7 separate regions of the Homo sapiens genome follow, and all the other regions are linked to region 7. Evidence: promoter capture Hi-C in 16 types of primary human blood cells and fetal thymus (Javierre and others, 2016). All regions are on one chromosome and are shown on one strand. The core of a region is centred on a gene start or on the middle of the fragment in contact, and the rest is flanking DNA. Distances in the headings are between cores, read along the strand shown. Region 1 overlaps OPHN1 (oligophrenin 1). Region 2 overlaps OPHN1 (oligophrenin 1). Region 3 overlaps OPHN1 (oligophrenin 1). Region 4 overlaps OPHN1 (oligophrenin 1). Region 5 overlaps OPHN1 (oligophrenin 1). Region 6 overlaps OPHN1 (oligophrenin 1). Region 7 holds the start of AR (androgen receptor).

Region 1 (3,974 bases), core at 1,133-3,632, 630 kb before region 7:
TATTAATGTGGGTGGTAAACTGTATGCCTGCCTTTGGTTCCGGTTCTCTTTAGCCTCTGCTGGTTATTCTTCAGTCTTAGATGAGCTTCACAAACTGTATGTTCATGGCACACTTAGTTTCAGTCTAAGTAATTTGCCAGGGTATCTGTAGTCCAAGAGATGTACCTAACGTCTCCATTTATTAAGTAATTAAGTTGAACCAACTTAGTAAGTTTGCACATTCACACAACTTAGTAGCCATATCATTCTTATTGAAAGTATTTTTATCTTGTCATTAAATGACCCTATAATCTTTTTAATGCTGAATATGTTTCAGAAACATTAATATTAAAAATAACGATTTTAATAAAAAAGATACCTGCTCATCCTAAAAAATTTTAAGCATTAAAATGTGTTCAGAAAGCGTAGTGAAAATTCACCCCAAATCCTACTCACCAGGAATACTTATTTTTTAACTTGGTGGCCTTTATTCTAAGTATATTTCTATGAGTATACACATAAACTATTTTAGAAAATTTAGATCATAATTGATGAAGAAAGAATTATCCATGATACTTGGATATAGTAAGGTAGACATTTTTTCAACAGAGACTACTGCATTGGGGTTTTATAGTAGGAAGAGAGATTGAGCTCAACTCCAAATACAAGGAAATTTATATCCAAGGAGCAGGATGGGTGTTATGGCTTGAATATCCCCTCCCAAACTGAAGCGTATCTGCCACTATAATGTTATCAAGAGGTGGAGCCTTTAAGAGGTGATTAAGTCATGAGGGCTGTATTTTCATGAGAATGGGTTAGTTACTGTGAGACTGGGCTCCTGATAAAACAATAAGTCTGGCCTAATTTTCACTCTGTCTTGACCACCAACTTGCCCAGCTGTCATGGGATGATGAACATAAAGACCCTCACCAGATGACAATGTCATGCTCTTGGATTTCTTAGCCTCCAAAATCATGAGCCAATAAACTGGTTCATAAATTACCCAGTCTGTGGTATTGTTATAGCAGCAGAAAATTGACTAAGACAGTGGGAAGCAGTGGATGGAGAAATGCTAAGAGGAAACATCAGGAGTAAGGAGAGATTGTGAGTAAACTGACTTGATAGGATACTTGCTCAAAGCCGGATACAGTGATCAGATACCTAGAGTAGGAGATTTTCACTAAACTGACTCAGCAGGATTCTTACTGAAACCAGACTATGTGGGCCAAAGACAGGACCCAAGGTTGGGACCTAATCAGAAAGAGAATTCAGAGGAATCTGACTCAAGTTTGCTCAAGGAGAGAATCTTTTTCATAATATAAATGTTTTATATTCTCAGCAGTGTCAGAGAACTGGACAAAGATATACATTATTGCCTCTCTCAGAGAATAATATTCTGTAAGGACTAATAAAAGAAACATAGAACTAAGGTAGAATCATAAAAATTGGAAAGGAGGAGGCAATATCCATATGTTAGAGAGGCTATACTTGTTAGAAAAATCAAGAGCTTCACCTAAAAAATTCCTGAGAAGGAGAATTTAGTGAGATAGTTGATTGAAATTTCTTTCCTATATACAACAATAAATTGTATAATAAAATGGAAGAAAAATTCCCTTTGAAGAAATTAACCAAACATAAAATACCTAGGTCTAAACTGAGCAGGAAATGTGTAACATCTATATGGAGAAAAGCTTGGAATGCTAAAAGGGAACTAGAGAGAAGGCTTGAATATATACAAACACAGAGCCACTTTTTGAATTGGGATATCCAGTGTGGTAAATATGTCAGTTTCTTACTGTATAAATATAATGCAGTCACGATGAAAAATATCTGGAAATTAATTTGTTTGGAACTAAACAATCTGCTTCTGATGTTTATATGTATGTATCACCTTGAGCCGAGAGTCAGGAAATATTTGAAATAGAAGAACCATACCTAGAAGTAAGATATATAAGAAAGTTGCAATTGACAAAAACAATTTGGAATTTGTACATGCTTAGACAGTGAAAACAGTATAGTGAATTCAAAAGTAGACCTGGGCTGGGCGCAGTGGCTCACACCTGTAATCCCAGCACTTTGGGAGGCCGAGGTGGGTGGATCACCTGAGGTCAGGAGTTTGAGACCAGCCTGATCAACATGGTGAAGCTCTGTCTCTATTAAAAATACAAAAATTAACTGGATGTGGTGGTGCGCACCTGTAATCTCAGCTACTAGGGAGGCTGAGGCACAAGAATTGCTTGAACCCAGGAGGCGGAGCTTGCAGTGATCCAAGGTCACGCCACTGCACTTCAGCCCAGGTGGTAGAGAGAGATTACGTCTCAAAAAAACCACAAAAGTAGATTCAAATATATGTGGCAATTTAGCGTATGATAAAGGTAGAATTTCAGATCATTTGGAATGAAGTGTTTAATTCAGTTTATAGTGTTGATAACTGGCCATACATTTGGGGAGGTATACATTTCACCTTATAAAACCCTTTGCACAATTTGAATTTTGAACTCTTCAACAAAGAGCTAGTTTAAAAAATAAATTAAAGGGTTGATATGATTAGGAAATTTTTAAATGTATATTTGTCTGTCTCTGTCAATTCACCATGTTCACAGACTAGGCAAAGGAATAAAAATGCTGCCATAGGAAAACAAAACCTACCTAATATAGTGTGTAATGGGGTATTTTGACATGGATATATCAGAGATCAATAAAATTCTCCCAAATGTAAGTATTAATGTTAAAATCTCCAAACTTTTCTAATTGAGATAATACAAAATAACATATACACTGCCAGTCAATTGGCATAACATTCCTCTTAAAATATAGGTCTATTCTATGAGCAGCTGATATGGTTTGTATCTGTGTCCCTGCCCAAATCTCATGTTGAATCGTAATCTCCAATGTTGGAGGTGGGGCCTAGTAGGAGATGATTAGATCATGGGGGTGAATTTCTCGTGAATGGTTTAGCCTCATCCACTTGGTGCTGTTCCAGTGATAATGAGTCAGTTCTTGTGACATCTGGCTGTTAAAAGTGTGTAGCACCTCCCCACTCTCTCTCTTCCTCCCATTCTGGCCACATGAAGTGTCAACTCCCCCTTCATCTTCTACCATGATGTAAGCTTCCTGAGGCCTCCCCAGAAACCGAGCAGATGTTAGCACCATGCTTCCTGTATAGCCTGCAGAACCGTGAGCCAATTAAACCTCTTTTTTTTTAATTAAATTATGCAATCTCAGGTATTTCTTTATAATAATGCAAGAATAATACAGCAACTGACCAGATTATCTAGCTGTGACTGTATATTCTTAAAATTTCATATAGGGTTAATCAAGCCCCCATTTAGGGAGTATTTTTGTTACTTTTATTTTTAATTGTGGTAAAATATACATGACAAAATTTACCATCTTAACTATTTTTAAGTTTATTGTTCATTAATGTTCATTGTATTCACATTATTTTGCAACAAATATGCAGAGCTCTTTTAATTTTGGGAAACTGAAACTCTGTACAACATTAACAACTTTCCATCCTCCTCTCTCCCTAGTTCTTGGAAACCAACATTCTATTTCCTGTCTCTATGTGTTTGACTACTCTAAGTGCCTCATATAAATGAAATCAAACTGTATTTGTCTTTGCGTGACTGGCTTATTTCACTTGGTGTAATATCCTCTAGATTCATCCATGTTGTAGAATGTTTTAGAATTTCCTTCATTTTAAAGGCCGAATAATATTCCACTGTGTGTGTCTATGTATGTATGCATATATATATATATATATATGTATATATAAAAACAATATGTATTGTTCATTCATTCTTCTGTGGATAGACACTTGGGCTGCTTCTACCTTTTGTCCACTATGAACAATACTGCTGTAAACATGGATATACAAATATCCCTTCAAGAAGCTGCTTTTACTTCTTTAACCCATTTATGCCTAGTGTTCCATTATTGGAATGCTAAGCATGTAGGAGTTATTTATATCTTACTACTCAAGGTCATCATCA
Region 2 (3,895 bases), core at 750-3,249, 570 kb before region 7:
TACAGCCAGGAACTTAAACAAGATTGCCTAATGAGATACTTTACTCGGTGAGGACTAAACTCTGATTTTTCATCTTGCCCAAATTCCTTTCTAAGGGGTCTGGGGAGTCATGCCCTCCAAGCCATAAATTCTCATCAGATGGGTTTTATTTAACCTTGTATATCATGACTTACTTTCCAATCTGACTCTGGCATAACAAGGGAGAAAATGAAAATGTTTTATCCCAAAATATATTTTCTTGCCATACCTTGAAATTGCCCTGCAAAGTCTCTTGTGGGAAAAATCCACATTCTATAGAGAATCCCCTTCCCCCATTGTTTTCCTTCATTTCTTTCCAGATCCAGGAGATAATCAACTAAGAGCCAGGTGCCCTTTTAGGTCTAATAAGAAACATTTTACAACGTACTCTCTCTAAAGTCTGGTATCTGAGAGATTCCTCCACACAATAAAACTTGGTCTCCACAATCCTTTATCTTAACCTGAACATTCCTTTCCATTGATCCCGGTCGTCAGATAAACTCAACCAATTGTCAACCAGAAAATGTTTAAATTTACCTATAGCCTGGAAGCCCCCACTTTGAGTTGTCCTGCCTTTCTGAACCAAACCAATGTATTTCTTAAATGTATTTGATTGATGTCTCATGCCTCCCTAAAAATATGTAAAACCAAGCTGTACCCTGACCACCTTGGGCACAAGTTCTCAGGACCTCCTGAGGGCTGTGTCACAGGCCATGGTCACTCATAGTTGGCTCAGAATAAATCTCTTAAAATATTGTACACAGTTTCACTCTTTTTGTCAACATCAGCCAAGCTTCTGTGTCAAGTAATATACACTCCTGGTCTGTACTTCTTAACTCCCCAGTTCCTTCTTAACTCATTGTAATCTAACTCTTACCCCCTCTGCTCCAATGAAGCTGCTTTTGCCAGGGTCACCAGGGATACCCTCAATGCTGCACACAAAGCACAGTTGTCAGTCTTTACCTTACTTGACCTTTTTGTAACATTTGAAGTTGTTAACAAGCCTTCTTTGATACTTTCTTCTGTTTTGGATTCTGCTGAATCACTTGCTTTTTGTTTTTCTCTAACCTCTTTGGTCATTTTAGTCAATCTCCTTTATGGGCTTTCTATTTGGTATTTTCCTGGGCTCTCTGCTCATTTTACTATAGTAGAACAACTGAAAACTGAAATATCTACAGGGACCAGGAAATAAAACTGAATGAAGTAGACTATTTTCATATTAAACACTTTGCACATTGAACCTTTATTTGTATGACAAGCCCTTTGTTTACATACAAACAGCAGTGTTGTTTACTTCTACAAAGAACCAATAGAGCCAGATCTTTGCATTTTTCAACAGGGACAGGGGATATGGGTTTGTATATGAAATATCTCATTTTAAAATATTTTGATCATTGATTCAATTCCATTTCACTTTTATACACTGTGCTGGACAAAGAAGAAATATCGGAAGACCTCATGTAGCTGTTTGACTGCCAGTTTGCCAGCTCCCCTGGAGAAGTGGCATCTGTTCTTGTGGTTTCGTCATCTGTTCTCTAGGTTCCTGATTTTCACATCTGCTTCTCTGATCTAGCAGAGCCCTGCATCCAGCTTCTTAGTAGATATCACCTTCCTGAGGCCTCCCTGACTTAGCATCTCTACTTCCCTCTTAATCAACTCTTATTCTATTCACTCACCCAAACCAAACTGCTCCCTTGCCATCATACCCAATCAAAGAAGGAGTTCTTTCTTTAATATTTTTCAAAACAGTCTCCTCACCTATTCTTTCTATGCTTTGTCACCCAGGCTGGAGTGCAGTGTTGTGATCATGACTCATTGCAGGCTTGCCCTCCCGCCACACCCTTCTCTCTCTCAGGCTGAAGCAGTCCTCCCATCTCAGCCCCTTGAGTAGTCTGGACTACAGGCACGCACCACCATGCCCAGCTACTGTTTTTAAGTTATTTTTAAGAGGTAGGGGTCTCATTCAGTTGTCCAGACTGGTCTCGAACTCTTGGGCTTAAGTGATCCTCCTGCCTTGGCCTCCCAAAGTGCTGGGATTACAGATGTCAGCCACCATGACTAGCCCCTCTGTTTGTCTTTTATTATCTTTTGCTTGGATTACTACAGTAACAACAGTGGCAGGCAGTATAGTATAGTAATTAAGAGCATGGACTCAGGAGACAGACTTCCTGCTTCTGCCACTTATTAGCTGTGTAATTTTGGATGAGTTTTTAACTTCTCTAGGCCTCAGTTTCCTCATCGATGAACTGGAAATGGTACCTACCTCACAGAGTTGTTATGAGGTTTAAATGGGTTAATACATGTAAATCACTTAGAGCAGTACAGAGTTTGCTATTCTTATAATTATTAGTTGATTACTTACTTCCTCTGAGCCACCTACCATATACCTTTATTTTGTCATCGTACTTGTCCCACTGCATTGCAAATTTTGTGTATGGTGCTCTTTTCTACTAAACTATTAGCTCGTTGGAGGTTTGGACTATTTCTATTCATCTCTGGATCCCCAGTACCTGGCACAATGCCAGGTACAAGTAAATGCTCAGCCAATGTTTTTTTTTTTCTTTTTTTTTTTATTATTATTATACTTTAAGTTTTAGGGTACATGTGCACAATGTGCAGGTTAGTTACATATGTATACTTGTGCCATGCTGGTGTGCTGCACCCATTAACTCGTCATTTAACATTAGGTATATCTCCTAATGCTATCCCTCCCCCCTCCCCCCACCCCGCAACAGTCCCCAGAGTGTGATGTTCCCCTTCCTGTGTCCATGTGTTCTCATTGTTCAATTCCCATCTATGAGTGAGAACATGCGGTGTTTGGTTTTTTGTCCTTGCGATAGTTTACTGAGAATGTTTTTTGACTAAATGAGTAAACCCATTTGAGCCTGAGTTTCCTCCTCCCGTAAATGGGGATTTGAATAACTGCTCCACCTCACAGGATTATTGGGAGGACAATTGCAAAAGCACTTCGGAAATTCTAAGGATCTATCAAATCGTAAGGGATTCATGGTAGCATTCAGCATGGGTCCCCTCTGGAATTTTGCAGGACTGGTTTGTGCCTCTTTTTACTTCTGGGAGCTAGTTGGAGACCTTGCTAGAGGGCTCAGCCCATGCTTTTGCAGGTCTTTTGTTGAATTACTAGCAACTTGGATTCCCTGACGAAGCTTCAGGTGAAGAGAAAAATGTATATAATCCCACTAAGCTGTAGGGCTCAGGAACTTCAGCCTTGCTGTCCCCAGAACTAAGAATCCAATACCCAGCTGCTTTCTTCCCAAAGCAACTGACAATTTTCATTCATTTCAGGAATCTTTCTGAACCTGTCATGACCTATAGACTTCACAAAGAGCTGGTCTCTGCTGCCAGTAAGTATTTATGTTACTAATTAACTGTGTTGTCCTAGTTTCTTAATGTTTACTGCAATAAGCCTAGAAAATTGTTTGAGGGGAAGTGATTGAGGGCACAGAAACCTAAAACACATACACAAATTATGCACAACTGCCAAATGAAAGTATTCTTGCTTGCTGTCTAACTCAAGAGTTCTATTATTTTTCATAATTAGTGTTACTTAAGTGGGCTTGAGAAAATTGGTTAACTTGAGGGTTGTGTGAATATAAAGGCTTTATTTATATATGTATTCATTGCCTCTTCCATCAGAACAAGAACATTGGCTCACATTACCAGGGGACAGAAAAATGGTTACACGACAGTTGCCGTTTCAACTTCCTTCAGCATTTTGCCTGTTCAAATGCTTTTCGACTGTGTTGTGAACCATTGTCCTTAATCTGTTAGTGCCAGCATCACATTTTCTAGATGAGAAAACTGAGGGAGAGGGCGTCAGTACATAGGAAATAAGGCATAGAGAATCACTCCCAAAAGT
Region 3 (3,572 bases), core at 978-3,477, 610 kb before region 7:
ATTTTACTAAAAATGTTTCTCCATTTGCCGTATACCATCAGGACAGATTCTAGAGACTCTAAATGGTTATTTTTCAAACAAATAATTTTCCCCAGTTGTGGTTGTTTTGCTGGGAGCTCCTCATGTTGCCATTGCACATGTATCTCTTCTAACGTGGAGAAACATTTGACATACAAAAAGTATACTGTAATAATAACAGTCTAACCAAACTTTCCAGACAACAGCAGGATTTTCCTCCAACATCTGTGTTTGATACACAGTTGCTTATATTTTGTTTGTACTCTTGTATATGTCACTGCCCTGCAGCCACAGTACCTACCTGTGTTTGAAAACAGGTCCAGCCTATACCTGCCTTTGGCCTTTGCACTAGCTAGTTTCTCTTTCTACACTGCTTTTGCGCAAGGCTCTTTCTCCATTTTCTTCAGATCTCAACATAAACTTCACCTTATTGCAGAAACTTTCCCATATCACTGGATAGAAAATAGCACCTCTTTGGCAGGCACCTGTAGTCCCAGTCCCAGCTACTTGGGAGGCTGAGGCAGGAGAATGGCGTGAACCCGGGAGGTGGAGCTTGCAGTGAGCCCAGATTGTGCCGCTGCACTCCAGCCTGGGCAACAGAGCGAGACTCCGTCTCAAAGAAAAAAAAGAAAAAAAAGAAAAGAAAATAGCACCTCTTTATCTCTCTTGATCCCTCATATTTCATTTTACCAATACTTAATGTATTTTGTCATATATTTTAATTATTTGTTTATCCTTTCTTTGCCATCGTTAGTACTTAAGCTCCATAGGGGTATGAATTTTGTCTGTTTTGTGTTTTGTGGTATGCCTAGTATGTAGATCAGTGCCATGCACAAAGTAGACTTTTTATTTTATTTTATTTTGTTATTTATTTAAATTTCCAGTTTTATTTTAGATACAGGGGGTGCGTGGGCAGGTTTGTTACATGCATATGTTACACCCAGGTAGTGAGCATAGTATCTGTAGCTAGTTTTTCAACCCACGCCCTCCTCTTTCTTCCCCCGTCTAATAGTCTTCAGTGTCTATTGGGCCCATGTTTATGTCCAGGTGTGCTCAATGTTTTGCTTCCACTTATAAATGAGAACATGTGGTGTTTGGTTTTCTGTTCCCGCATTAGTTCGCTTAAAATTATGGCCTCCAGCTGCATCCATGTTGCTGCAAAGGACATGATTTTGTTCTTTTTATGGCTGCATAGTATTCCATGGTGTATATGTACTACAGTTTCTTTATCCAACATACTATTGGATGGTATACTTTTAATAAATATTTTTAGAGTGAATAAATGAGTTACAGTATGGCAATTTTATCTATCCCCAGAGGAGCACTGTCCAATACAACTTTCTATTATGATGGAAATGTTCTCTGTCTGAGTTATCCAATGTGGTAGATGCTAGTTACATGTGGTCACTGAGGATTTGAAAGATAGCTAGTGCAACTGAGGAAATATATTTTAAATTTTATTTAATATAAATTCAGATTAAATTAGGCCAAGTGTGCATATGGTTACTTTACAGCACAACTCCAAAAAGTCGTCCGCCTTACCATGGCATCTTTTCAAGGCATAATTTTTACCTTTTATTCCTATTCATGGAGTTACTTCTAGCATTGCTGGTATTGTCATCATTTTTACTACATACTATGTGCACTGTAAGCATCTTGGGTCTTTATAGAAACTCCCTTTGGTTATACTTGCTGTCAATAAACAAGAGTTCAATTATCGGGATTTGTCTACAAATGAAATTACATCCTTAATTTTGCTTGATTTTGGAAATAAGCATCTAGTTGTCTCTTCATTTCTTCTTTCATATGTGATACATTTTGTAAATTTTTTCAAGTCATATTGTTTTTGCAATAAAATGGCATGAAGTACTGATGCATAACAACATGAATGAACCTTGAAAACATTATACTAAATGGAAGAAGGCAGTGATAGGAGATCAAATGTTGTTTGAGTGCATTTATATGAAATTTCCATAATAGGCCAATCTACAGAGAAAGAAAGTCGATTAGTGGTTGCCCAGGCTGGTGGGGAATAGGGGAAATGGGGACTCACTGCTGAAGGGTTTGGGCTTTCTTTCTGCATGATGAAAATGTTCTATAATTAGTTATGGTTATAGTTGTACAATTTGTGAATATACTAAAAGCCTCTGAATTTCATATTTCAGTATGTTTGTGTGTGTATGCATGTCTTATATTTTTATATTTATTTTATCTTTTTTCTTTTTTTATCTTTTTTTTTTCAAATTACCCAGAATCTGAGATGTGTTTTTTTTTTTTTACCTCTTCCTTCAGAGATTCTGATTCATCAGAACTAAGATGATAATCTGCATTTTAAACAAGCAATCCAAGTGATTCTGATTTAGGTTGCCAAAAGATTTTTTTCTTTAAGAAACAATGCTTTAGGCAAGGATGTTATTAATCTTTCTTTAAGAAATTTCTGATAAAGTAGGGAAATGCATATCTTTCCCCTAATTATATATGAATATCCTGGCCTCCCTGATACCATGGTTATATTTTGAACTGAAATTTGTAGTTATTGATGATGCTGACACATTTTCTCTGTATTTGGCATGCCATTGCTATTTTAGACATATAAGGACACTCAATTGCTGTATGGTACTCAGATGGCTTTATCTTATCAGTTGAAATTTCTTCTTATTCTTTGTATTTTTCTTTAAAAAATAGATTTGGTACTTGCCATACCATAACCTCTGTTATTACAACTGTTTTACCATTACTTTGAAACCTATTGTAGAGAAACAAGAACTCTTTCTCTACATTATCCCAGTCTTCACATTTTGTAAGCTGCTTATCAGGTTGGGTTTTCTAGTAAGATATCAGAAGCACAGCCTACACAGGGCAGAGTATGTCCAACATGTGGTGGTGGGCAATCTGTGTCTTAATCATCTGGAATGTTTGTTAAATATCCTGGGATCTGAGAATCAAAATTTCTGAAGAGGTAGTGTATTAGTCTGTTTTTACACTGCTGTAAAGATACTACCCGAGACTGGGTAATTTGTAAAGAAAAAGGTTTAATTGACTCACAGATCCACATGGCTAGGGTGGCCTCAGGAAATTCACAGTCATGGCGGAAGGCAAAGGGGAAGCAAGGACCTTCTTCACATGGTGGCAGGAGAGCAGCATGGGGGAAACTGCCCCCTGATCCAATCACCTCCCACCAGGTCTGTCTCTAGACATGTGGGGAGTATGGGGATTACAATTCAAGATGAGATTTGGGTGGGGACACAAAGGCTAATCATATCAGGTAGCTTGAGTATACAGGTTACTATCATGTCCACTGAAGTCTGAGAGCAACTGACGTAAATTTTTCATTTTCCTTTTTTTGTGTGCCAAAACTGTAGATGAGAGAACCACTGATTTATGTAGTGATCTGTGCCTTTATGTTCTCTAATACACAACTTCAGAACAGTTTTAAAATTCATTCTGATTCTTCCTTAACTTGGTCATTATATTTGCTTTTCTTGGGATGGGTAGAATTTTGCAGTTTCACTTGAAACTGATTTTTGCCTCTCTACTTGATCTTGCTTGTCTAA
Region 4 (3,983 bases), core at 606-3,105, 550 kb before region 7:
GGTTTTTGCTTCTCTAACGGGGGTCAGGAAGGGGCTGATTTAAGAGACTAGTAGGCATTCTCTCAATGTGCTTTGTGGTTCTTTGTACATGCTTTATACTTATATGGGCTGTTCCTCTTGCTTTGAATGTCCTCTTGCTTCCCTCCTGCCTCTCCAAATAGTATCCCACTAGCTTTAGTCCCTCCCCACATCCCTGTCTGTCTCTTAATTCCTTCAATGCTGTTAGCTAGGTTAGCTATGTCTAACCACTTTGATTCCTAATTTTATACTATCTTGTATTCTTTGCTGATTGTTTCCTTTGTAATCTTGCCTTCCAATACATACTTTAGGTGCTCCTTTCCTTCTACATTTTAGTTTCTCTTACCCTCTACAGCACCTAAAACAGTCTTGGTTGTAAGGGGATACTGGAGCAAATTTTGTTAATCTTGCCCCTTTTCTTCTGGCAGTGTGTGTGAGCACAGCAAAGAGAATCTTATGACCCCCTCCAACATGGGAGTAATCTTTGGGCCCACCCTGATGAGAGCTCAGGAGGACACTGTGGCCGCCATGATGAACATCAAATTCCAGAACATAGTGGTGGAAATACTAATCGAGCACTTTGGCAAGGTATGCATTTTCTATTCTCACTACCTGTCTTCCAAACATGTGACACTTTCCCCCAACTGCCTTTTAGTGCTGTGTCTTCCTCCTTGGCTCACGTTGACAGTGAAAGGAAATCCCATTATGACACAATGACATTTAATGGCAACTCTGACCCTGGGAAATTCATTCATTCAGCAAACATTGCTTAAGCTTATAACTATATTATTTTCAGACACCATGCTAAATACTGGGGGTAATGAAGAAGAAAAAGTCACTGTCTGTGCCTTTAAGGTGTTAACAATGTGTAGTATGGAGACAGATGGGTAAATAGGAAAATGATAGTATAAAAGTAGTCTATATACAATGAAACTGTAGGGGAGAAGATATTTATGTTCTCACCCATTGCTAGTTTCATGGCTGAGATCCCTATAACAAAAGACCGATTAACAAGAGAAAAGCATACAAATTTATTTAATAAGTTTTACATGACACAAGAACCTTTAGAAATGAAGACCCAAAGAAGCAGGTAAACTCTTGCATTTTTTATACTAAGTTTGATGAAATGGATCGTTGTGAAGATTAGTGATTAGAAGACAGAAGGATATGATCTAATGGTAATAAACTTAGGGGGATCTTAGCAAGGCTTGTTTGTTCAGATTCTTCTTGGTGTTTCTGTGTCTTCGAGGATAGGGATGTTCTTTTCCTTCAGTTATAGGGAGGGTACCTCTGGAATGACCTACTTCAGAGGAAGGTCAGAGAATTCTTTTATGGCCTGCTCCAGGGGAGAAGGTAGAGAAACCTTCTTGCTTCTGCTGTTTCCACAAACGCCAAAGTGCCATATTTTGGGATAGCAGGTCCTGAACTCCATCAAAACTAAAAAGAAATCAATGCTTACACTTATTCGAACCCCATCTCATTCCAAAAGTATATATGGTAGCATATTTTATATTGCACATAAAATATAAGGCATCATACATTATAATCAGGTCAAGTACAAAAGGTAAAACAAAGGTAGAGTCAGAAAATGATGCCCAGAATGAGGTTAAGACAAATATTTATTGACAAATTCTTGTACACTTGCAACAGATGGCCCTGCACACTGGGGTATAAGCTTCATAGCAGCTAGTGCCATCCTAGGGAAAAGCATAATTCAATAAAGAAGCACAGGGAGGCAAAAGCAGCAGGACTTGGTGACTGGAAGTCACCAAGGATGGGGGAGAGGGAGATTTCTGAATCCTGATTTTCTGACTTGGCTGACTGGGTGGATGGGGCTGTCCTTATACATATAAGAAATTCAGAATGGGAAAGTTTGAGGGAGATAGAGGAAAGTTCAGTTTGGAACAGGTCGCATTTGAGATTTGTGAAAGACATCCAGGGAGCAATGCCTGGCGAGCAGTTGACTATGTGAATCTAAAGCAGGGATCAGAAAGCTTTTCCTTAAAGGACCGTATAATAAATACTTAAGCCTTTGCAGGCCATGGATTTCTGTCACAACTACTTAGCTTTGCCATTGTAGTGAGAAAACAGCCATAGACAATATGGAAACAGATGGTTGTAGATGTGTTCTAGTAAAATTCTATTTACAAAATGGGAAACAGGCCTGTGGGCTGTAATTTGCTGACCCCTGTTCTAGAGCCCAGATGTGATAAATTGATAAATCAATTGATTCATCCAACAAATATGTGTCGAGTACCCACTTTATGCCAGGTACTGTTTCAGGAACTCTAGATATCATCTTCATAGAGTTTATATTTAGAAAAAGTAAACAAATAGTATTCAAAGTAAGTAAAGTATATAATATTTTAGATTGTAATGAACATTAAGGAGAAAAGCAGAGAAGGGAAATAGGAAGGGTTGGAAAGTGGTTTTGCAATTTTAAATACAGATAGGAAAGGAGAAAATAAGGAAATGAGGAGGGCCTCACAGAGAAGATGACCTTTCAGCAGAGATCGATAGGGAGTAGAGGAATGATTCATTCACCTATCCAGAGAGAAAGGATTCTAGGCTGAGGAAATGGTAAGTGCAAAATCCCAGAGGCAGAAGTGTGCCTGTCATATTCACGGTACAACAAGGAGGCCAGACTAGCTAGAGTGGATTAAGCAAAAGATGAAATAGAAAAAGATGGGCTCGAAGAGATAATGGAGAGGGACAGACTAGATCCTGTAGTGGAGTCTTATAATCCACTGGAAGAATTTTAGATTTGCTCTGCCTGGGTAAGATAGAAGGGGGGTTTTGAGCATGGGAGTGACAGGATTTGATTTAGGCTTAACAGGCTTATTCTGGCTGCAATGTGGAGAATATGAAGGAAGTCAAAGAAAATCTAGATAAATTGAGATACATACTGTGTTCATGGAGTGGAAGACTCAACATGATAAAGATGTCAATTCTTTAAAAATTATAAGTTTAAGGTAATCAATATCAAAATCCCAGCAAGAGCTTTTGTAGATAAAGACAAGATAATACTAACATATATGTAGAAATGGAAAGGAACTGTAAGGGCTAATACAATTTTGAAAAATAATAAACTGGAGGTAGGTATTAATAATATTAATGCTTACTGTATTGCTTCAGTAGTCAAGACAGTGTACAATTGGCAGAGGTAACCCGATAAGTCCTCTTGTCTACTTCTTACATAAACAAATAGAACAGAATAGAGAATCCACAAATAGCCCTACAGAGTATGGCCTGATTATTTTTCATGAAGGTACAAAAGCATTTCAAGGGAGAGAGGGTAGTCATTTCAATGAATTGTATTGGAGCAATTGCAGCTCTATAGGTAATGAAAGTGAACCTCAACCTAAACCTCTCATTTTATATAAAAATGAGCTCACAAAGGATCATACATTTACATATAAATCATAAAACTAAAACTTGTAGAAGATAATATAGAAAACTGTTAGAGCCTAGGACTTATTGAGGAGACATGATACCAAAAGCATAATCCATTAAAGAAAAAAAATCAATAAATTGACTTCATCAAAATTAAAAATTTTTGCTCTGTGAATGACCCTATTAATAAGATGGAAAAAAAAGCTACCGAGATTTGGAGAAAATATTTGCAAACCACGTATCTGACAAAGGATTAATATCTAGACTATACAAAGAACTCTCAAAGCTCAACAGCACAAAAATTCAATCTAATTAGAAAGTGGGCAAAAGACATGAACATGACGTATGCGTGGCAATTAAGTATATGAAAAGATGTTCAAGATCACTAGCCATTAGGGAAATACAAATTAAGACCATGATGAGAGATCTCTACACACCTATTAGAATAGGTAACGTTAAAAAAATATATAGTGGCAATACCAACTGCTGACAAGGGTACACAAAAACTGGATCTCTCACACATTTCTGGTAGGAATATAAAATGGGGCGGCTGCTCTGGAAAACAGTTTTGG
Region 5 (3,851 bases), core at 919-3,418, 530 kb before region 7:
ATACGAATTGAAGTTTTTTTTTTTTTTTTTTTTTTGCCTATGTATATCACATTGTTCCAGTACCATTGCTGTCCTTTCTCCACTGAATTGCCTTTGTAAAATAAATAAATAAATTTATCTGTATAGATGTGGGTCTATTTCTGGGCTTTCTATTTTGTTCCATTGATCTATTCACCTATCTTGACATCAGTGCCACACTGTCTTAATTGTTGTAGCTTTATAATAAGACTTGAAATCAGGTAGTGTTAGCTTTCCAACTTTGTTTTTCTTTTTCAAGATTGTTTTGGCTATTCTAGGTTCTTTGCATGTCCTTATACATTTTTGAATCAGCTTGTCAATGTCTACATACAAGCTTACTGGTATTTGGGTTGTGTTCAGTCTGTAGATCAATTTTGTGAGAATTTACATCTTAACACTATTGAGTCTTTATACCTGCAAACAAAATATATCTCAGTTTATCTAGATTTTCTTAATATTTCTCAGCAATATTTTGAAGATTTTAGTGTACAAAATCTCTCTGGCACTTTGCCTTGCAAATTCTCACTTCCTTGTCTTTCCCATACTCCCAATTCAGTCTTCTCAACGTAGGGATACTACTGGGTTCCACTTGGGTTCCCCTTCCTGCACTGCAGCCTGCAAAACTCTAAGCTGGGAAACTCATAGGGCTGACCTCATTTGTTTTTTTCAGTCTCTCAGCATTCACTGTCCTTCACTGCTGGATTTCCAATGCCTTTAAAACTACTGTTGCATGTATTTTTCCTAGTTTTGTTTTGTTTTTACTTGTTTCAGGCTAAATGAGTAAAACTAGTTTCTGTGCCCTATCTTGGCCGGAATAAGATAGTAGCTGTTTGTAGTAGTATTTTAGTAGTAGTAGTTAGTAGCTGTTAATAGTAGTAGTATTTTCAGGTGACAGTTTGGCCTTTTACATTAGAATTGCAAATGTATTTGTTTTTTGCCTCAGCAATTCCAGTCCCTCTTCTAGGTGGTGGAGATAGAGCAGTGAACATGACAGACATGCTTCTATGTTGTGTAAAATCTAGCTTGGAGACAGACAGCAAACAAAATCAATAAGTAAAACGTGTTATATGTTAGAAAGTGATAGGAAATGCTGAAGAGAAAAAAAATTAAAATGGAAGGAAGATAGGAATGCTTGCGTAGAGGGAGGCATGTCATTGTTTTAAATATATTGACCTGGAAGGGCTTACTGAGCAGAGTATGTTTGATTAGAATCCTAGAAGAATGGATATCTGAAGGAAGATCAGTCTGGGTGGAAGAAACAGTCAGTGCAACGACCTCATGTATTCGAAAAATAGCAAGGAATATTTGTAACAACTACTACAGTGTTTGAGCTCACAAAATGGTGGCTCTTTAGACTATTATTACTAATGATGGTGGAATTAGGAATATGACCTAGAACCGTATGGCCTCAACATTAATCTGCTTGCTGTTAAGTTACATTTTGTCTTCCTTACAATCATGAGGCATATACTCACGGTTTGTGATTGTTCATGCATTGTTTCTTATCATTGTCCACCTTTTACACAGCTTGCCTTGTGTTCTCAATCATGTTATTTCCATGCCCATGTAGTCTGTGTTGACCCTTGCCTGATGGGATATTGGGCTCTGACATTTCTCTTTACACTAATCACTGGGGTTGATTTTGTTAGTCTCACTGGCTAGACAGTGGTCTCCTTTCTCCATCACATATGTGTATCATCCCATAGTGTATGCACTTGGGCTAAAAGGTTGGTCTCCATGGAGACTGGAAAATCCTTAAGTACACATGAGACATTATATAAAAATTCTAATCACAGCTCCTTCTGCATGCCTTCGGCACTTCTTATAGCATCCAAGGCACTGTGTTGTTGCTTTTTAATTTTATTTTACTTTTTATTGAATAGATAATGTACCATGGCATGAAATTATAAAAGAACAAAGTGACATAGGAGGGAAAACACAGTTGTTCTCCCTGTATTCCCCAGCCAATCATTAGTCCTACCTTGAGACAAACAATGTAATCAGATTCTTTGGTATCCCTTCAGAACTATTTAAGGCATATGGGCATGTAATTGTGTTTAGTCTCCTTCCATGTCCTACCCCCACCCATAGAAGGCACCTTGACAGCTCCTTTAATTTCTTTCTTACCACACTCTGTGAAGTGGGTGATGCTGTCCCTATGTTACGGATGAGAAAGCCAAGGCTCAGAGAAGTGAGGTGACTTGCCTAAGGTCTCCCAGGAAGGACATGGAAAATCCAGGACTAATGCCATCTTTTATAGGCATTTTTTCTTCCAAACTGAGAAGTGCCAGGTTCTGTGCCTTGAGCATAGTAGGAGATACCTAAACATTTACCTGTAGCTAGAGTGATTAAGAAAATCTCTGATTCTTTGAGTCATGTTAGTATTCACGTTACAAACTCTAGATATAAGGCCAACAAGCATCAACTGGTGGGTAGCATTCAGAAGACAAAAACTTGATCTAATTATTCTCTAGATATCTTCCTTCTTTCTCCACAGATCTATTTAGGTCCACCTGAGGAAAGCGCTGCACCGCCAGTGCCTCCGCCTCGGGTGACAGCAAGAAGGCACAAACCAATCACGATTTCAAAGCGCTTGCTGCGAGAAAGGACGGTTTTCTATACTTCTTCCCTGGATGAAAGCGAAGGTCAGTACTGAGGTTCACCTTTAGCTTCTGAATGGTGATTAGACACAAAGAGGATATCGAAGGGCAGAAGCGGTGGCATGACCATTTTTCTCTCTATAAAAGTAGACCTTTCCTGGCTCCTGAGCTTAAAAGCAGCCAGGGTTTGTAGTTTGTGCTCAGAGAGGGGATTAAGCCTTTGACAGCAGATAGGATGGTGATGAGCTTGTAAAGGAAGTTACCACGTGGAGGATCCCTATAAGGCCAGTGCAGGATCCAAGGTGTTCTTAGATTTATGCCCCCAATATATTGAAATGGGTGAGCAAGGTGAATGTTGTGAAATTTTAAATTCAAATATAGCAAACACGGATTGGATAACTACTATGTGCCAGGTACTGTGCTAGGTGAAATTAAGATACATTGCTTGCCCTCACAGAAGAAATGGAGACATAGATAAGTGAAGAAATAAATGCCTTCAGTGGAATAATTGCTAGTGTGGAGACTACACCCATTCTAAATGTGCCTCTGCCCTCCTACTCCACTAAGACCATTTTTGTCAGGTTTGCCAATAATCTCCATGAGGCCAAACCAAATAGCTACAACATTGTTCTCATCATACTCAGTTTGTGAGTAGCATCTGACACAGTTGACTAACTCCTCCTTCTTGAAACACTTTATTCACCTGGCTCTCAGGATACCAGATTTTCCTTTAATCTCACCAGATAATCCATCTCAGTCTTCTCTCCTGGTTTTCCTTCTCTTCCCAACTTTACATGTTAGAAGGTCCCAGAGCTTTTTTCTTAGTCCTGTTCTCTGATCATGTTCTTTTCCTGTGTGATCTCATTAAATTTCATGGTTTTACATATCATTTAAATGCTAAAGATGATTTCCAAATTTATCTAAGATTGATATCTTGCCTCTTTTGTCATATCAAATTTCCTGCTCAACAGTTCTCCTTGGATGACTCATGGGCATCTCAGTTTACACTGTGCAAAACATAACTTGATGCCTGACTCTTTCTTAACCTGCTCCTACTCTGGTCTCCTCCATCTAAGTAATTGGCAGCAGCAGTCATCCAGTTGCTAAGGTCAAGAACTTTGGAATCATCCTTGGTTACTACTTTCCCTTTTTCCTTCATATTGAATCCATTGGCAATTCTTGTCAGCTCTACCTGCACATTATATGCTAACTTCTACTACTGCCCACTGCTTC
Region 6 (4,112 bases), core at 68-2,567, 590 kb before region 7:
ATTTAAGCCACAGCCATTTTTGTTCCATGTTATTGAAATAGACCTTTTATATGTCTCTTTTCTCTGCTGTCCCAGTTACGCTCTTACTGTTGTCTACACAGCAGCTAGACTGTTCTTCTGTATTCAGGCCAAGTCAGAGCAGACCATTCCTCTGTTTAAAACTCACCAGTGGTTTCTCATTTCATTCAAAGTAAAAGCAAAGGTCCTTCCAATAACCCAAAAGGCCTATATAATAGCTCCCGCTCCCCTGTCCAATACCCTATTCTCTCTCTTGGTCTCATCATTTTTAATACTCTCCCTTCTTTATTCCACTTTACTTTCACTGGCTTCCTTATTGTTTATTTTTTTAAGAAGGCAAGGTAAACAAATAGCTTAAGTATTTTTATTTGTTTGCAACTAAGCTTGTTAACACTATATAATGAAAATGTGCAAAGAATAATGTTGCAGTTTTCGGTTAGATTTAAGTCAAAGATATTCATTAATAAGGAATCTTCGAACGTGAATATTCCAGAAATTTCTCTAAGCCATCTGATCAGAACAACTGTCTCTGAGTATTACCTTACTTTGTAAGGTATTGGCATGCATTTGAATTAAACTCAGATTTTTTCAAAATAAGTCCTGATTAAAAAAACTATTCTATATTCAAACTAAAAGAATATAAATAGAACTTTTCCTTTCCAGAAACAATAAAGGAAACAAGGCATTTTGTAAAATATGGTCCTGAGCAAGTTGCAGTAAAAAAATAAATGTATACTTCTACCTGCTCAAAACAGAGGCTACTTTCTTTTCCTCAGTCTTGGAAACAAGGTGAAGAACAGCCTAAATGTGACTTCGGGCAGGCGGTTGCCAAAACAGCTCAAGCAGTTGACCATGGACACCTCAAATGAATTTGGGAGAACCTCACCAAAGGATCCAAATTCTATTTTTAATAACTGATACAAAGGTGAAGTGGCTCTTCCCAAGTAGCAGTGCTGCCAGGGCCTGGCCCTGGCCCAGGCCCAGGCCCAGCTCTGAGCTTACCTGCTATGCTCCCAAGCAAACCATGATCCTTCTGCTCCAGGGCAGACCTTTTCCCTTTAGAGGTTCAGTGTCCAGGGAGCTCTATGATTGTGTGAATGAGGTGAGCGCCGACTCCATGTGAGTATTTTAAGGCTTGGAGTCAAAGTATTTTTCTAACACGCTTAGGCAGAGTCCATGTGTCAATGGCCCATCTCCAGTTTGTTCTAATTTCTCACCACACATTTGTAGATATTTCTCACCACACATTTGTAGATCTAGGACCACAGACCTTTGCTGTATTATCATAATCACAGCTAATGTCCATCCTAACTTATGATTCATATTCTATGCCTGGAAACAGTCCCTGTATTTAACAATAAAACCTACACATAAAAACAATCCACTGTTGCAACTTATATGGTCACAAAACGTAAATGATCTTCTGTAGAACAAGCAATTTTTTTTTTGTTTTTTGTTTTTATTTATTTATTTATTCTTTGAGACAGAGTCTCACTCTGTCACCCAGGCTGGAGTACAATGGCGCGATCTTGGCTCACTGCAACCTCTGCCTCCCTGGTTCAAGTGATTCTCCTGCCTCAGCCTCCTGAGTAGCTGGAACTACAGGTGCCTGCCACCATGCCCAGCCAATTTTTGTATTTTTAGTAGAGACGGGATTTCACCATATTGGCTAGGCTGGTCTCAAACTTCTGACCTCAGGTGATCCAAGCACGTCCGCCTCTCAAAGTGCTGGGATTACAAGCGTGAGCCACAGCGCCCGGCCAAGCAAATGTTTTTAACCATAATTGTCATGAATCAAGCTCAGCCAGAATCCCCAAGATCAAAAAAAAATTGCACTATACAAATAATAACTTGAAATATACATACACACGCTCTCATACACACTTCTTACAGAACTGTGCTTGGGGAAGCTCCATTTGTTGAGTGCCACTGAAGGCATATTTTGCTAAACTGCTTCTCCAAGTATTTTGTTTTGGAAAATCTATCACAGTAGGGCACAGCTGTTTACTGGATGAGCAGAAAAAGGGAGATATGCTTGTGGCAACCAAAAAGTTTTAAGGTCTTTCAAGTTGTATAAAATGGACCTACAGAAACGTTTAAGTGTTCTCAGGATGCAAAATTGAAGCTGAAATGTGTTGTCAAACCAGTTGCAAAAAGTGTACAGCAGGCATCTCTTGAGGTTAAACCTGGTACCCAGATACATAACAAAGCTTCAGGACACATGGCTTGTTGGCCTTGTCCCATACCGTTGCATAATCTGATCATGTGTGAATTTCACAAAAGATTCATTCATATTGTTCTGCTAGTTTGGTATTGAGGATTTGCTCATACTCCTCCTGAATCTTGTCTTCATAGTCTAAGACACACTCACGTATTATTCCGATTTGTCAGAGGGTAAATGTGGGCTGGTCCTTCTTCATCCATGAGGAACCTGGAGAGCTAGGTGCTATGAGTGCTGAGGAGTGAGGTTGACTTTCTGAAGCACAAGCTTCACTCTGATTAAGAACAATTTCTAAATGTCTCCACCTCTGATAACGACTGTATTCTAGTTTTATGTTCTGAAAAATTTTCTCCGGAATTGTAAGGCGCCGCTTGCTGCCGAGTGGGGCGGACTGCTGCAGAGTTGGCGGTAGGGTCTGCGTCTGAAGCGGCGGCGGCTTGGCGTCCGGGGGCCTGAGGCCCGGAGTGGGGCTGGGCAGAGGGGTGCAGCACGGCTGCTTCGGGGAAGCAGGGACTCAGCAGCTTTGTACCGAAGTCCATGGGCCGCTTCAGCGTCGCCTGGTTCGCCAGGTCGCTGACGGGCCAGGGACCGGGAGCGGACTCGGGTAAGTGCGGCCCAAGCTCCGGCTCCTCAGTGGGGCTCGCCAGCCAAGCCCTATTGTTTCTTTTTCTTTTTTTCTTTTTTTTTTTTTTTTGACACTTAGTATCTCAACATTTTATTATTATTTTTTTTTAATTATACTTTAAGTTTTAGGGTACATGTGCACATTGTGCAGGTTAGTTACATATGTATACATGTGCCATGCTGGTGCGCTGCACCCACTAACGTGTCATCTAGCATTAGGTATATCTCCCAATGCTATCCCTCCCCCCTCCCCCGACCCCACCACAGTCCCCAGAGTGTGATATTCCCCTTCCTGTGTCCATGTGATCTCATTGTTCAATTCCCACCTATGAGTGAGAATATGCGGTGTTTGGTTTGTTGTTCTTGCGATAGTTTACTGACAATGATGGTTTCCAATTTCATCCATGTCCCTGCAAAGGACATGAACTCATCATTTTTTATGGCTGCATAGTATTCCATGGTGTATATGTGCCACATTTTCTTAATCCAGTCTATCATTGTTGGACATTTGGGTTGGTTCCAAGTCTTTGCTATTGTGAATAATGCCGCAATAAACATACGTGTGCATGTGTCTTTATAGCAGCATGATTTATAGTCATTTGGGTATATACCCAGTAATGGGATGGCTGGGTCAAATGGTATTTCTAGTTCTAGATCACGTATTTCAAAATAATAAGAGCTATCTATGACAAACCCACAGCCAATATCAGACTGAATGGGCAAAAACTGAATTTTCCTCTAATCGCCTCATTAAATGTATCCCACAGATTTTGATATGTAGTGTTTTCATGATCATGTTTTAAAGACATTCTGTGATTTTAATTTGTATTTCTTTCTTTAAAGAATTATTTAAGAGAAAGCTTATAATTTTCCATGCGGAATGGACTTAAAAAGTGATTTCTAGCTTTATCGTAGTATTATTATTAGACAATGTTTATAACATGTCAACTTTATGGAACTTACTGATGTTTTCTTTGTAACCTAATATATGATCACTTTTTGTGAGTATTTCATGTGCAACTGAGAAGTATAGTCTCTATTACCGGGACATAAAATATGATATATATCTGTAAGATTGTTATTTAAGTCTTCTACATCTTTACTTACTGTTTATCCACTTGATTTGTTGTTTAATGAAAATGATGTGTTAAAGTTTCTTTTTAGTGTGCTTTTATATACATCGCCTGTATTTTTGCTTTATAAAGGTGGTGTCTGTATTACTTTATGCACAGATATTCATAATTGCCAT
Region 7 (3,734 bases), core at 1-2,500:
GGTGCCTGGGGCCCGGGTTCTGGATCACTTCGCGCACGCTCTGGAACAGATTCTGGAAAGCTCCTCGGTAGGTCTTGGACGGCGGCCGAGGGTAGACCCTTCCCAGCCCTAACTGCACTTCCATCCTTGAGCTTGGCTGAATCTTCCACCTACTTCCCTTACCCCGCCTCCCCTTCTCTTGCTCAGAAGAGTTCAACAGGCTGTGATGATGCGGTAGTCGCTGCAGCTAGCTGCCCACCTGCGGGAAGCTCCAGAGAAGGAAACTTGCGGGAGCAACCACGCAAAAAGCGCTCTGACAGCCTCAAAGTCTCGTGCAGAAGAAGACACACGGTGGACAAGATCTGCCCTGCTAGGCTCACAGTCTGTCTCTTAATACTTGAAGGGTAGATTCAAAAGATGCCCAGATCTTAAAAGAAAAAAACAAAATCCTCCACCTTCCAAATTCAGTGTCCACTGAAGTAGGTGCAAATAAGAACTGAGTTATTATCTTTTTCTTTTATTTCGGCTTTTTTGTTTTTGTTTGTTTTGTTTTTTGGCTACTGAAGACCTGACTGCCTTTTCATCTTTTGATCTCTGGCTCCGCACTCGGGGTGGGGAAGGCAGGAGGAGGTGGAGAGAGAGTGGGGGAAAACAGAGGGTTCTCTCCGCGTGCAGCCTAACCAGGCGGGTCGTGGCTGCAGTGCTGAAGCCGCTCCCCAGTCGCCTGGCTCCTAAGAGCCTTCTTTGCAATGTGCAGCTAGCTCGCCCGCTCGCAGCCAAAGGGAGTTACCTCTCTGCAAACTCGGGCTGGCAGCGCTGGGCCGACGGGGGCGGGGGGGCGGGTGGGGAGAAGGGTGGTGAGGGGGGTTGGCTGAGAGTAGCCGACTGAGGCAGCTGCGGGAGAGAAGACGGGGGAGGGGGGGAAGGCAGGGTGGGGGGAGGCGGGGTGGAGAGGAGGAGGACAAAGGCAGCCGTCAGTCCTACCAGGCACTTTCCTTGCTTCCTCCGAGTCTTTAGCAGCTTTTAAAAACTTCACCGAAGAGGAAAGGGCAGCTCCGGGCGGCGGCTTCGAAGCCGCCGCGCTGCAAGAGGCGTTGGCTGTCGCTGGAGCCGGGCTGGGGCTGGCGTGGTGCGTCCCTTCGGCTCCTGTACAGCACTGGAGCGGCTAGCTCGGCCCTTTTTCCCTCTGTCGCCTCCTCTGCCTCTGGGCTTGCTCCGGACCGTCCCGCTCTCCCAGCAAGCTGGCTCCCCGGGATCTCGGAGGGGGCGCTGGGAGGTGGAGAGCAAATGCAACAGTTTGCGAGTCGGGTCCCGCCCCCACCGGGCCGGCCTCCTTGCCTTCCCACCTCCTTTTCCCTCCCCTCCCCTTTCCTTTTCTCCCCTCCCCTCACCGCGCGCTAACGCCTGCCTAGTGGCTTTGGAGAAACAAGTGCTGGCGCAGCGTGGGCGAGGGCAGGAGAGGCTAGCTCTAGCCCTGGAGGACCCCTGCTTCCTGAATAGCTCCTGCTTTCCTAAACCAAGGTTTAGGCGCCAGGGCTCCAGATTTCCTGGAGGCCAGCACTCACCAAATTTGGTTCCAAAGCCCAATCTAAAAAACCAACAGGGTGGAGGCGAGGGAGGGAGGAAAAGGACGATAGGAATACCTGCTCCTGGCTGCCAGGGGTTCTTTTCAGGACTGATAAGAGCGCGCAGATGGGAGAGTGGGAGAGTCTCCTACAAACTGAGGAGCAAGCCATGACCAAGCCAGCAGATACTTGCTGAAACCTTAGATTCCGTCATAGGGATAGATCGGGCCTCGTGGCATTGTGCCATTTGCTCTAGGAACCCTCAGCCCCAAGAATCAGAGGTCATTTCTACCCTCTTCTCTGCCTTTCTTCCTGTCTGGAATTGCCTTTAACCATGCATTTCTCATCCAGACTCTCAAAGGCAAAATCACCCAGACAAGCAGGTAAACACACAAACACTAAAAACACTTGCCATGTACACATAGGCGCTCAATTTTGTCCAGAGCTCTGTAAACGTTTGCTTTGTATGCAGCCGCTTGCTTTTCCAAGTTGCCTTCGCATATTTTAAACTTTACAACTGGAACTATCCAAGGATAGAACCTATATAGGGCTGCTTTTCGCCTCTTGATGGACAGCCAGGCGTAGAGGATGATGTGGGTTACTGCAACTGCTCTTTTGTGGAGGAGGTCCCATAAGCCCTGTGTAAAGGTGGAGATGCAAGTGGGAATGGAAAGAGAGAGAAAATGTAAACGTAAACCTATAAGGAAAACATCTTTCCTTTATGTCAGTAGAGACCCTGGGCCTCCCTATGTTTTAAATTCCTTTGACTTCTGATTCTGGGGAGGCTCTCTGTTCCAAAAGTCATTCCGAGATTTTTGCCTGGGTCTCTTTTGCTTTTTGCAGTCTTCTACAGAGAAAAGATGGGTTGTAGCTTTGTTGTAGCTTTATCTTGTGCACAGCCAAACATCATAGGCATTTACTTACCTTGACCAAAGAAGGTAACTCAAACCTAAAGGCAAGGAAGACTGGATATGATAGGCTCTATTTCACAGATGAACAGGCTGAAACAAGGACATAATTTGTTCTATGTTCCACATTAGTAAAACCTAAACTAGTCTTCCAGTCCATTGCTATTTGAGCTAGACTCTAGACTCATCAATCGCATTGTCATTTGGGAAATGGCTATAAATGAACCTTCCAGAACACAAAGGCCTGAAGACCCTTTCACCTGAGGAGGTGAAAAATTATTTCCTGAGATTTTAATGGCTACAGCCTTCCTTGAATATACCTCACCATATGTAAGTAGAATGCGTAGATACTTCAACCTCATTTGAATACTCATTGCAACATTTAATCCCACCACAACTTTCAACTAGCATTGCTCAATAGGAATTGAGTGGGCTGGCAGGATGGTAGAATGGAATTAACATAGGTCTCAGAGCCAGGAGAACTATGTGTCTACACACTAACAGTGAAGGAAGGTGCAAAAATCACTGAATGAACAATGGACAGGAGTGAAGAGGACACATAGACACAAAGAGGCCTGAAAAAAAATTAAGGTGAGAAATAATGCTCTGAAGTTACTCTGAATAAAAAGCAGTCTGACATTCAAACCTGGGTCTGAAAGACTCCAAAGTTTATGTTGCTTCCACATCACCAACATTGTCTTCACAGTTTCCACATCTGAAAACTGTTGCCAATATAAGTTACCCTCAGAAGGCTAGTGTGTCATTTAAAAGACATAATGTGTATAGAACAAACTTGTAAACAGGAAAGCATTCTACAAATCTGAAGGATTACTATGTTATTTTTATTTTTAAAGATGGTGCTGTCAACAATTATATCATTATCAGGAAAGGTTAACTACTATAAGCATATTAGGGCCATATACTTTATTTGGATTTTGAACTCTGATCTTCCAGCTCAAATCTCATTTTCTTCCCATTGCTTTTAAGAACAAGAGACAATTATTGATTAATATTATATAAGTTCACTGTTTGTACCAGCTTTCTTCTTCTTTCTCCTCCTGTTCTTTGCAGTTTTTTAGTAATCAAATGGAACCAGAGGTGTTCTCTCAGATTAGTCAGGTTGAGAGTAAGTTTCTGCTATAAGCTTCCTCTGCAACTTCAAGAGGGATTTATTAATAAAGTCTTCCCTAGCTCTTTGCTCTGGAAAGCCAGGATGAGCTGACCTTTGGAAAATGGTGACCATCGGGTTTTATTTCCTAAGTATCTCACACATCTGCCCATT

What was found. Contacts are between HindIII fragments. The CHiCAGO score rates a contact against its expected background, and 5 or more counts as called.
Region 1: a contact is called between a fragment that was not itself captured here and the fragment with the promoter of AR in region 7, in 1 of 17 cell types (M1 macrophages). The highest score is 5.8, in M1 macrophages.
Region 2: a fragment that was not itself captured here is called in contact with the fragment with the promoter of AR in region 7 in 1 of 17 cell types (M1 macrophages); the score reaches 5.2 in M1 macrophages.
Region 3: a fragment that was not itself captured here is called in contact with the fragment with the promoter of AR in region 7 in 1 of 17 cell types (M2 macrophages); the score reaches 7.1 in M2 macrophages.
Region 4: a fragment that was not itself captured here is called in contact with the fragment with the promoter of AR in region 7 in 1 of 17 cell types (M2 macrophages); the score reaches 5.0 in M2 macrophages.
Region 5: a fragment that was not itself captured here is called in contact with the fragment with the promoter of AR in region 7 in 1 of 17 cell types (M0 macrophages); the score reaches 5.1 in M0 macrophages.
Region 6: a contact is called between a fragment that was not itself captured here and the fragment with the promoter of AR in region 7, in 2 of 17 cell types (M2 macrophages and monocytes). The highest score is 5.5, in M2 macrophages.

Annotation. Positions count from the first base shown.
Region 1 is chrX:68,176,747-68,180,720 of GRCh38, reverse strand. The region is part of intron 15 of OPHN1 (oligophrenin 1); the gene reads left to right. Among named protein-coding and RNA genes, the nearest start is that of OPHN1, 250 kb to the left of the region's middle. The HindIII fragment of the contact is 1,419 bases long and covers 1,673-3,091 here.
Region 2 is chrX:68,112,666-68,116,560 of GRCh38, reverse strand. It overlaps OPHN1 (oligophrenin 1), which reads left to right. Exons shown (of 25, transcript NM_002547.3): 17 at 3,322-3,380. Among named protein-coding and RNA genes, the nearest start is that of OPHN1, 320 kb to the left of the region's middle. The HindIII fragment of the contact is 2,371 bases long and covers 814-3,184 here.
Region 3 is chrX:68,155,029-68,158,600 of GRCh38, reverse strand. The region is part of intron 15 of OPHN1 (oligophrenin 1); the gene reads left to right. Among named protein-coding and RNA genes, the nearest start is that of OPHN1, 280 kb to the left of the region's middle. The HindIII fragment of the contact is 5,387 bases long and covers 1-3,572 here.
Region 4 is chrX:68,093,493-68,097,475 of GRCh38, reverse strand. It overlaps OPHN1 (oligophrenin 1), which reads left to right. Exons shown (of 25, transcript NM_002547.3): 19 at 447-606. Among named protein-coding and RNA genes, the nearest start is that of NXTAR, 310 kb to the right of the region's middle. The HindIII fragment of the contact is 319 bases long and covers 1,696-2,014 here.
Region 5 is chrX:68,071,964-68,075,814 of GRCh38, reverse strand. OPHN1 (oligophrenin 1) reads left to right here. Exons shown (of 25, transcript NM_002547.3): 20 at 2,516-2,663. Among named protein-coding and RNA genes, the nearest start is that of NXTAR, 290 kb to the right of the region's middle. The HindIII fragment of the contact is 3,627 bases long and covers 355-3,851 here.
Region 6 is chrX:68,131,561-68,135,672 of GRCh38, reverse strand. All of the region lies in intron 15 of OPHN1 (oligophrenin 1), which reads left to right. It also overlaps the pseudogene AKIRIN1P2. Among named protein-coding and RNA genes, the nearest start is that of OPHN1, 300 kb to the left of the region's middle. The HindIII fragment of the contact is 1,827 bases long and covers 404-2,230 here.
Region 7 is chrX:67,541,537-67,545,270 of GRCh38, reverse strand. It overlaps AR (androgen receptor), which reads right to left and starts at 1,250. Exons shown (of 8, transcript NM_000044.6): 1 at 1-1,250. The coding sequence starts at 124. The HindIII fragment of the contact is 7,103 bases long and covers 1-3,598 here.